2 separate regions of the Homo sapiens genome follow, and region 2 is linked to region 1. The links are contacts of gene promoters, found by promoter capture Hi-C in blood cells and fetal thymus (Javierre and others, 2016). All regions are on one chromosome and are shown on one strand. The core of a region is centred on a gene start or on the middle of the fragment in contact, and the rest is flanking DNA. Distances in the headings are between cores, read along the strand shown. Region 1 holds the start of MRPL47 (mitochondrial ribosomal protein L47). Region 2 overlaps FXR1 (FMR1 autosomal homolog 1).

Region 1 (5,100 bases), core at 1,078-3,577:
AAGGGATTTTCATCAAGGAATGTAGTTTTGTAACAAGTTCAAATTCCTGCTGGAAATTTGTTAAATACCACTGGTTCTTTGCATCATGTTTCCAGCAAATCCCTATGTATATTGCCTCATCCTGTGGAGTGGCATAATTCAAATTAAACTGGGAGAATAGGGGTAAAAAGAGAACAAGATATTTTGAGGCTGGAGACAACTTTCTGACTTTAAGTGTTTCACTTCCTCTTTACCTGCTTCTATTGCACAGGGCAAATAGCTTACAGTATATATCTAATGAAGAGGATTAAATAAATTAATACTTTAAACCCTTAAAATGATGCTTGAGGTCAGGTGGGGTGGCTCACGCCTGTGATCTCAGCACTCTGGGAGGCCAAGGCAGGTGGATCACGAGGTCAGGAGTTCGAGACCAGCCTAGCCAACATGATGAAACCCCATCTCTACTAAAAACACATAAAATTAGCCGGGCATGGAGGCGTGCAACTGTAATCCCAGCTACTCAAGAGGCTGAGGCAGGAGAATCGCCTGAACGCAGGAGGCAGAGGTTGCAGTGACCCAAGATCACGCCATTGCACTCCAGCCTGGGCAACAGAGCAAGACTCCGTCTTGAAAAAAATAAAAATAAAAAAGGATGCTTGACACGTAACAGGTGCTCAGTAAATGTTGGCTATTATTTAGTGACACATTATTTAATAATTGAGTCAGTTTCCTCATCTGTAAAATGAAAATAACATTGTAATTTCTTTGCAGAGTCTCTGAGATAATAAAGTACACTGAATATCAAGCATTTGATCTTTGCTATGATTATTCACACCGCCATGATGCAACTCACTGTCTCCAAGGAGGTCCAAATAGCCCTATTAAGACTGTATTGGTCAGGTGCAGTGGCTTACGCCTATAATCCCAGCACTTTGGGAGGCTGAGGTGGGCGGATCATTTGAGGTGAGGAGTTCGAGACCAGCCTGGCCAACATGGTGAAACCCCATCTCTACTAAATATACAAAAATTAGCCAGGCGTGGTGGTGTGCACCTGTAGCCTCAGCTACTGGGGAGGCTGAGGCGGGAGAATCGCTTGAACCCGGGGGGTGGAGATTGCAGTGAGCCAAGATGGTGCCACTGCACTCCAGCCTGGGTGACAGAGTGAGACTGTCTCAAAAGAAAAAAAAAAAAAGACTGTATTATGACTTTCCTGAGACCTAGGCACTTTTGCCTTCAAGGGCCCCTTCGTCTAAGTTATTAAAAATAATATTTTATGACTGCATTGGTATAAAACGAACATAATACAGGCTGGATTCGTTATCATATTCATAAACATTATGGTTTTTTTAAAAAAGAAATTTAAATTAAAAGACTTTCGTAGACCCCTAAAACTATCATGGGTTCAGGCAGGAGAATCGCTTGAACCCAGGAGGCGGAGGTTGCAGTGAGCCAAGATCGCGCCACTGCACTCCAGCCTGGGCAACAGAGTGAGACTCTGTCTCAAAAAACAAACAAACAAAACAAAACAAAACAAAAACCTCTCTTCCTCCCCAGTTCATCTGCATCTCATTATTGGGCGGCACGGTACTTACTGTGCCTAAAGAATAAGTTGGCCCTGAGCCTCTTTACCTGTCTACATATTACCTGTCTTCATATTCCTTAGCATAGGTGGGCTTCTCGGCAAGATGACTTTGCATCTGTGGGACTAGAACCTAGCCTTTGGGCAGGTGGAACGCAACAATAAGCTTGTGCCCTAGAGATACAGATCTCAGCTCTATACCTTTCTAGACTCAGCTTCATCCGCAAATTAGCATTAATTGGGATGGTGAATAACAACGTTTTAGAAATGCTAATAATGTAAACACGATCTATCTGGCTACTTCAGGAAAACCCCTCATATAGCTCGTGCTCCGTCTCTCCTGTCAAGCCCCAAGCCCACAACTTGTCCCGGCTCCCTCCGGATCCCACCAAGGTCACCCTGGAAGCGTCCTCCCTTTTCTCGCCCCGCACCCGCTTCACGCCCGTTCTCCCTAGGCCAGCACCCACCAGCAGCCTTCGGAAAGCCACGAGTGAGGAAGCCCCCAAATCCGAGGCGAGTGCCAAGGGGCCGGCCAGACAGAGCTGCCACCGCAGTAACCGAAACCCGCCGCAACAAACTCATGGCCGCCATGGCTACTACGGGCAGGAGGAAGAAGGGAGGCGGGTCACGGAAGCTGAGAGAGCCAATTTACCAATGAGGACAAAGGCAGGATGTGGCCATCTTAAGTGAGGGCAAGTTTTCTATTCTCCTCACCGCCGGCTTGAGACGCCGGAAGTGACGCTATCGTTGGCGGAAACGCGTTTTGCCAGTTATGCGAAAACATGGCTGCGGCCGGTTTGGCCCTTCTTTGTAGGAGAGTTTCATCCGCCCTGAAATCTTCCCGATCGTTAATAACTCCTCAGGTCCCTGCCTGCACAGGGTAAGTGATGTATAAAGTAGGTTTGCCCACCTCTCCAACTTTGGATCTTGTTTGGTTGCCGAGATGCCGAGATGCCGAGAACAACTCAAGAATGGAACGGCCGCCTGGATGGCAGAGCCGGAGCCCACTTTGGTGAGGAGTGAGTGACCTTGGAGAAGTCGCTCACCTCCGACATTTCTATTCCTTCCTCATTTTGTTGCTGCCTGCTGTGGACAAGACAGTATATGGGGTTTGTAGATGTCCAGCATTTGTTGAAGTAAATACATCTATAAGTACAGAAGCATCCTCTTGGGCTGGGTGAGGTGCGAAAAACTTTACCGAAGATGTTTTTGTTGTGATACTCAAGTCTGTGTCAAGTTTGGATGGATTAAAAAAGAAGAGATATTTGTATTTACAGGATGTGTTACAATGAAAGTAACTGGTAACTTAGTAACTTCTTTTATTTATTTATTTTTCTTGGTCCTGGATCCAGTGAAGTATCCATTTATTACATTGGTTGCCATGACTCTTTAGTCTCTATCCGGAACAATTTCTTTTTTTTTTTTTTCTTAATGTTGTTGACATTTTGATGAGATTAGCTTTTTAAGAATCTTATTCATTTGGATTTGTCTGATTGTTTCCTCATTATAAGATTTAGGCTAAATATTTTTGGTAGGGATACAACACTTGTGATAAACTTCATTATTTAGTTTCAAATCATCTCAGGTCGTTAACTATTTTTTAAAAACAGGATTTTTGAATTACTGCATAATAATTTATCATCCAGATGCACAGTAATTTTTAAACCATTCTTAGCTGCGTATTTACATAATTAAAAACTTGACATCCTATATAGTGCTTTAATAAACATCTTAATTTATAAATTCCCATCTATAATAATTTTTTCAGTTGAAACTTCTAGATGCAGAATTACTGAATTAAAGGAGGAAGTATTTGAGGCTCCTGATACATGTTGCAAAATTGTGAGGTTTTTTTGTTTTTGTTTTTTGAGACAGGGACTGACTCTGTCGCCCAGGCTGGAGTGCAATGGTGTGATCTCAGCTCACTGAAACCTCTGCCTCCCAGGCTCAAAGCGTCCTCCCACCTCAGCCTCCCGAGTAGTTGGGACTATAAGGCACGTGCTACTATGCCTGGCTAATTTTTGTATTTTTGTTAAAGATGAGGTTTTGCCATCTTGCCCAGGCTGGTCTTGAGCTCCTGGGCTCAAAGTGATCCTCCCACCTCGGCCTTCCAAATTTCTGGGATAACAGGTGTGAGCCACCGTGCCCAGCCCACATGTTGCAAAATTGACTGCTCTTTTTACCTGCGCTTGCACCCATTAGCAATGTAAGAAGGACCCAAAAATGTTACCTTAAAATATAATTGTGTAACTATGTTACCTCTGAAATTATAAGGTAGCAGCTTCTATAATGCAGTATTAACAATACTTTCTAAAGCATTTTCAAAATTTATTGTGGCCAAGCATGGTGGCTCATCCCTGTAATTCCAGCACTTTGGGAGGCCAAGGTGGGAGGATCACTTGAGCCCAGGAGTTCGAGACCAGCCTGGACAACATAGTGAGACCCAGTCTCTAAATAAGAAAAAAAAATTAATTCTTGTGCAGAAACCCTGAGTAGCTTTTTAAAATGTTATCGATGACAAAATGATTATGTTTATTATGATAATGTTTATTGCTTATAAAATCCAGATATTATAAAACTTTTACTTGTTTATGTGTGTTCAATTGCAGGTTTTTTCTTAGTTTGTTGCCTAAGAGTACACCAAATGTGACATCCTTTCACCAATATAGATTACTTCATACCACATTGTCAAGGAAAGGACTAGAAGAATTTTTTGATGACCCAAAAAACTGGGGGCAAGAAAAAGTAAAATCTGGTGAGATACTTGGATTTGTCAACATTAGATATATTTATGGAACCCCCCCCCCCGCCCCGCCCAACCATCGTTCTAGGATTATATATCCAGTTTAGGAATTATTTAGATGTTTCCTTTTTCAGTTTTCTTTGAGACTGTCTACTAGAGAAAATTAAAGGGACAATATAATAGTAGAGTTAATTGTTCCTTGGCAGATTGGCAAGATGGTTAGATAAGGAATAGGCTGAAATTATTAACTAAAGTAAGGTTTAGGGCTTATTTTAGATTTTATTTTTTAATGATAATTTAAAGTTTGTTTATTTATTTAGAGATGGAGTTTTGCTCTTGTTGCCCAGACTGGGGTGCAGTGGCACAATCTCAGCTCACCGCAGCCTCTGCCTCTCGGATTCCAGTGATTCTCCTGCCTCAGCCTCCTGAGTAGCTGGGATTACAGGCACGTGCCACCACGCCCGGCTAATTTTGTATTTTAAGTAGAGACAGGATTTCGCCATCTTGGTTAGGCTGGTCTTGAACTCCCAAACTCAGGTGATGCCCGCCGTCTTGGCCTCCCAAAGCGTTGGGAATACAGGTGTGAACCACCGCCCCAGTTAATTTATAATGACAAAGTATTTTGTCATTAGGGTGTGAAAATACGTTCTGTACTAATGCTAACATTTTTTGAATGCTATTGCCAGTCATGTTAATAGTATTTTCGTATGTTACCTAATTTATCTCTAATTACACATTGTTATATACTATAAAAAAGCTGTTATATATTTTACAGATAAAGAAACAGGTTTAGACAGGT
Region 2 (5,139 bases), core at 1,231-3,730, 1.4 Mb before region 1:
TGCTTACATACCTAGCCCATTTTCATTAACTGAAGCTGTATCAGATTCAGTCATTCCATCCATCAGAACAGCATCTTCATCAGTCCTTCGTCTACGAGACCGCCTACGACGGTTAGTACTGTGATGAGATTCGCTGGCATCAGTGTCTGCAGTCTGATCTGATTCTGTATTATCAAGTAAGCTGTATGGATTGCTGTCTGGATCTTTGAGCACTATATTCATGTCAGAGGCAAGAAATATTCGTTTAAGAGTACTGCAATTATGAATGTTTGATCTATATTGAACTATATCAATGACAAATAAACTTCAGTCTCCCCCAATAAAAATGCACTGTCTTCAAATAAAATGTTTTCAATATTATTTACCTGGAAAATAACAAAGATAATTAAATATGATAAAACTTTAAGTGGTGATGAAAAATTAAAGCAGAAAGTAAGCAGACATCTTGGCTTCCTAACATTTCCTGTGCCTTGTTTTTAAAATATACATTAGAAAATAGTGTATTAAATGCTAATTCTTGCATTCACATTTCAAGGTAATCCTGCCCAGAGACTAGAAAAACAAAAATGAAAAGAAACAAATATTCAGCTGTTAAGAAATAATTATAAGAGCGAGCTTTCATCCCCTTAACTGAGTTCAAAATGACTGCAGCTTTGTTGTGTTGATGTTGATGGACTGTTTCCCAAATAATATTCAATACCTGCATTCCATGACATAATAGAAATCCGTAACTGAACTGAAGCAATCAAGACAAGTTGAAACAAAGCAGCCAATTAAATAAGGTTGAACTTCTAACTGGTTATGAAAGGAAAATGTTGAAACGAATGCTGACTAGTACTCCATCTTTAGAAACATTATGGAAGGTGATGTGAAGGTGGAAAAGGAAAAACTGTAAGGTACAATTCATAAGAAAAATACCCATCTTACCTATGTGCATTTATTACCTCCAACAATCAAATTTATAGAAGAAATTCACCTAATTCCGATTTTTCCTAAGATTCCTTTGGTAACAGCTAGCAAGCTAAGCATCTTTGCAAAAGACACTAAGCGTATCCATTAATCATAAAACACTAGGTCAAGTACATTTATTTTGCAATTCAGTATACTGTAATTTTAAACACCTTGGTAACTGTACAAAGTGTACTAAAATATAAAAACTATTACCCTGAAAGCCTGTAAACTAAACTTAAGGCTCAAAGAGTATTACTGTGGAAAGGGAGAAAATCTAAACAAACAAAGAACAAGTTCCTAATTTTTGCCCTGATTTGTTCCAGTTTTTGTAATTTGTAAGCACAGTTGGCATCTATATTTAATGTATCTACACACACTTTCTATAATATTAAAATACTACATAAGTTTTCATGGGTATAACATTAAGGAAGGTGCGGGTTTCTTAACGTGGTATACCATAATGATATGTTAAAGTTATATCCTTAATATAGTCTATGTATCTATCCCTGGCAATTAACTCCCTAGCCCGTTATGGTAACCAAGGATATTCTGGAAACTCCTACAACTTAATGTAAAGCATAAAAAAATTTTAGAAGACAGAAGTAATTAAGTAAAACGTTTCCTACACCCTCAAATCTTTAGTCATCCAAACACTCCTCTTTACAGCACAGTTCCTCCAACAATTAAAAAACTTAGTTAATTCCACAATTTTTCCCTGTTCCCAAAGTACTACATAGTGTAGCTAAGAATGCTCTTCACTTCGTTTTCAATATTAAGTATAGAAAAGTACTGACATCTCTCTGTGCATTAGAAATCTCTGGGTCTGTCTGGCAAACAAAAAAACATAACCCCAAAATTCTAGGGAAAACAAAAAAAATTCTAATTAAATAAGCCTCCAAAACCTGAAGAGAGAAACATCTGACCCTCATCATATAAAGAAAAGCTGCCAACTAAAGTTCTGACCAGTATATTCTAAGTAAACCTTCACTGAGAAACACTCTACGAGGGCTTTTCCTGATACTGCTATATGGTCCACTACTTTCTCTAAGACAATGAGTAGCAAGAGAAACTTCCAAAAATGGGTGGCCCTGGGAGATGAATTAACTTTTGTAAAATTAAACTGTTTACAAATAATGGATGCTGACAGAGTATAGAAAAGACTACCAGAACTGATGGAGGATTTGCCACCACGTGGTCCACCACGACCTCGACCCCCTGAAACACTTCTGCCTCTTCCTCCTGGGCGTCTCCTGCTGTCACGCTGATGTCGGCTGTCTCGATCATCTTCTCCTGCCAATGACCAATCACTCAGCTCGTCTTTACGCTCAGATTCCGTTTCAGAGGGGTTAGACAGCTCAGAATTTGTACCTTGGAAAAGAAAAGAACATAAACCACTTAGATTTCTATAAAAAGCCTTTTAAAATGTTCAAAATTATGTCCTACAAATTATTGTTTAAATAAGCAATACTGTTTGGCTGCTTCAAAGAAAGATCCATGAAAGTTAAAATCAATCTGAAACGTACTAAGGAATAATCAATTATTATACTATTAATATACTAGTATAGTATCTACTAGTTAATACAGATTAAAAAATAAACTGATGTGCAGAAGGCCGCTCACTTCTTCAAAACCAGCAGAAGAATCCCTCACTGCAGTCTGCTAAGATGTGCTATGTCATGTAATATAGTCAAAGGTGTGACCATCTCATCAGCAAAAGGGGATAATATCCAGGAAATACAAAGTCATGGAAGTTAAAAAAAAAACTGATGTGCAGAAATGCAGTCAACAGAAAAATTACAGAAAATATACAGAACATTAATTCCTAGGTTTTGGCACCAAAAAAAAAAAACCATACAGAACATCATTTATCAATATTAGAATGTACTTAGTATGGATAGTCAAATGTTTCTGCTGATTTGGGTTTTAGTAACCTAAATTATTAGTACAATAAAAATAACTTCAATATTTGAGTAAATTAATCATATTTAGAAAACTGAATAGTTTAACTGTATAGTGTATTTCACCATAATTTCATTGATTCTAGGGTATACTTTTCACATGTTAACATCTCTGAAATCAAGATATTTCTTATAATTGATGGCATCTTTATTATAAGCTAGAAGTAATTTTTCCAGTAGGTTGTATATAAAATGATGGCATGTTTTACTAGCATCTTAAATTGCGGTTTTTGCCATTAAAAGTAACTACTTTTACTTTTTGCTTTTCTTACTTTTAATGGCAAAAACTGCAATTACTTTTGCACCAACCTAATATTTGCAATTACTAAACAGAATTTAAGGTTTCTCTGAAACAGAAGGTCTCTCACCTGACAACAGAACTGAAGCCATGACCAGTGAGACAAATATTCAGCATTGCCTTTAAAAGTTTACAGACCATTTCTAACACTGCAACTATTGTAATGGTGACCTTTCAAAAATTTATTTAAACACCACAAAGATATAATCAGAGGCCTACATTATCATTATTTAATAATTACTGTAACTCAAATGTCAGATACATATGACTCAATCACTATCATATTCATTTCCACTTGTTAGTTCTGGGATGCCACTTCTTCTTTCCCTCTTATATGACCAAATATATCTCCTTCAGGGCCTAGTTCAAATTCTAACTTCAGACCACTGCAACTAAGACAGATCTCTCCCCATTTTTTGTTATCCTAAAATCGCCCCACATCTATCACAGACTGTGCCATGTTGTTATTTTTTCCCCCTGTGGAATTACTTCAAAATTGGTCTATGATAAAGGGTGGAACTCCATCTTATATGTCCTCAAATGCCTGGCAGAGTGTATAACAATTTTCTCAACCAAATAATTTGCTGCATTATTTTGAAGTTCATTTGCTAAACTCTCAGATAAGAGTGATTTCATGAAATACCTTGAAGTTCCCTATATTTAAACTCTGCAATCATTTGAGGAAAAATGCAAACAAGAGCTCTTCAGACATAAGAAGTTTTAAGTATTAAGGTGCAGGGAATAAAATGTAAAGTTTTATACATGAAGGTGCCTCACTTCCTTTCTCCTTTAACGATAACTCTAGGATGCCTACCTTTTCTCTACATGGTGTTAATAGATGTAACTAGTCAATTATAAAAACAATTAGGTAATTAGTTGGATGTGTATTTTTCAAAGAATACATCAAATTTCTATTACTCACTTTCAATTCTTTGTTGGGATTAGAATCTCAGGGAAGGGAATTAATTTCCCCTAACATTTATTTCACCAAATGACAAAAAGTACTTTATTAACAGGATGTCATAAAAGTTGTAATGAAGGCAATTTATCTTTCCTTGAATAGTGAAAAAAAAAGCCTTTCAGAATGTTTAAGAACTTCTGAATTTATTTACAAACCTATACCCTACCTGAAAACATTACCAAAATTCAGGGCAAATGAAGAATACTTCATTCTGAAGACTCTCTCAAAAGTTCATATTGAAGTATCCTTAGAAATCCAGTGTAGTATTTATCTAACCCCGTGTCACAGCAAGTAAAGTCTTCCTTAAATTTAACCTACATATAGTATTCAAGAGACTTAGAGGGAATGTCTAAATCATAGATTTCAGCAGGTAAAACAGATATTGAGGCCGTACCCCCCAAAATTTTAATGTATTGGCTAGTGCTCAACATTACTCATATTAAATAACTGTTAATAACACATATTAAATGTTTCTGTGATAGCAAAAAGGACTCTGCAAATGTGACTAAGGTTAAGGACCTTGAGATAGAGAGATTATCCTGGATTATCCAGGTGGGTCCAAACTAATCTCACTGGGTCTTTAAAAGTAGAGAAATTTTCTAAACTACTGAAAGGGGAATCCCCGCTAGACTTTCCAGAAAGAAACGTAGCCCAGCTGACAAGATTTTAGCCTAGTGAGACCCATGTCAGCCTTCTGACCAACAGAACTATAAGATAATAAATTTCTGTGGTCAAGCCTCTAAGTTTGTGATAATTTATTACTGCAATAGAAAACAAATACTCTAATAAAATCAGGGAAACCATTTATTCCAGCCTCTCAATTTTGTAAAACACAGGTTGGTGATTCAAAGTCGTTTTTTTAAACAAGCTTTAAAAGTAATGACACTAGGCCAGGCTGGTGGCTCACGCCTGTAATCCCAGCACTTTGGGAGGCGAGGTAGACAGATCACCTGAGGTCTGGAGTTTGAGAC

What was found. Contacts are between HindIII fragments. The CHiCAGO score rates a contact against its expected background, and 5 or more counts as called.
Region 2: a fragment that was not itself captured here is called in contact with the fragment with the promoter of MRPL47 in region 1 in 1 of 17 cell types (monocytes); the score reaches 5.3 in monocytes.

The regions. Positions count from the first base shown.
Region 1 is chr3:179,601,865-179,606,964 of GRCh38, reverse strand. MRPL47 (mitochondrial ribosomal protein L47) reads left to right here and starts at 2,327. Exons shown (of 7, transcript NM_020409.3): 1 at 2,327-2,438; 2 at 4,168-4,313. The coding sequence starts at 2,341. NDUFB5 (NADH:ubiquinone oxidoreductase subunit B5) reads right to left here and starts at 2,171. Exons shown (of 6, transcript NM_002492.4): 1 at 2,026-2,171. The coding sequence starts at 2,149. RefSeq lists enhancers at 1,586-1,675, 1,706-1,865, 1,304-2,170, 2,046-2,245, 2,171-3,037. The HindIII fragment of the contact is 8,643 bases long and covers 1,727-5,100 here.
Region 2 is chr3:180,965,231-180,970,369 of GRCh38, reverse strand. It overlaps FXR1 (FMR1 autosomal homolog 1), which reads right to left. Exons shown (of 17, transcript NM_005087.4): 14 at 2,116-2,319; 15 at 12-212. Among named protein-coding and RNA genes, the nearest start is that of DNAJC19, 22 kb to the left of the region's middle. The HindIII fragment of the contact is 5,116 bases long and covers 1-5,038 here.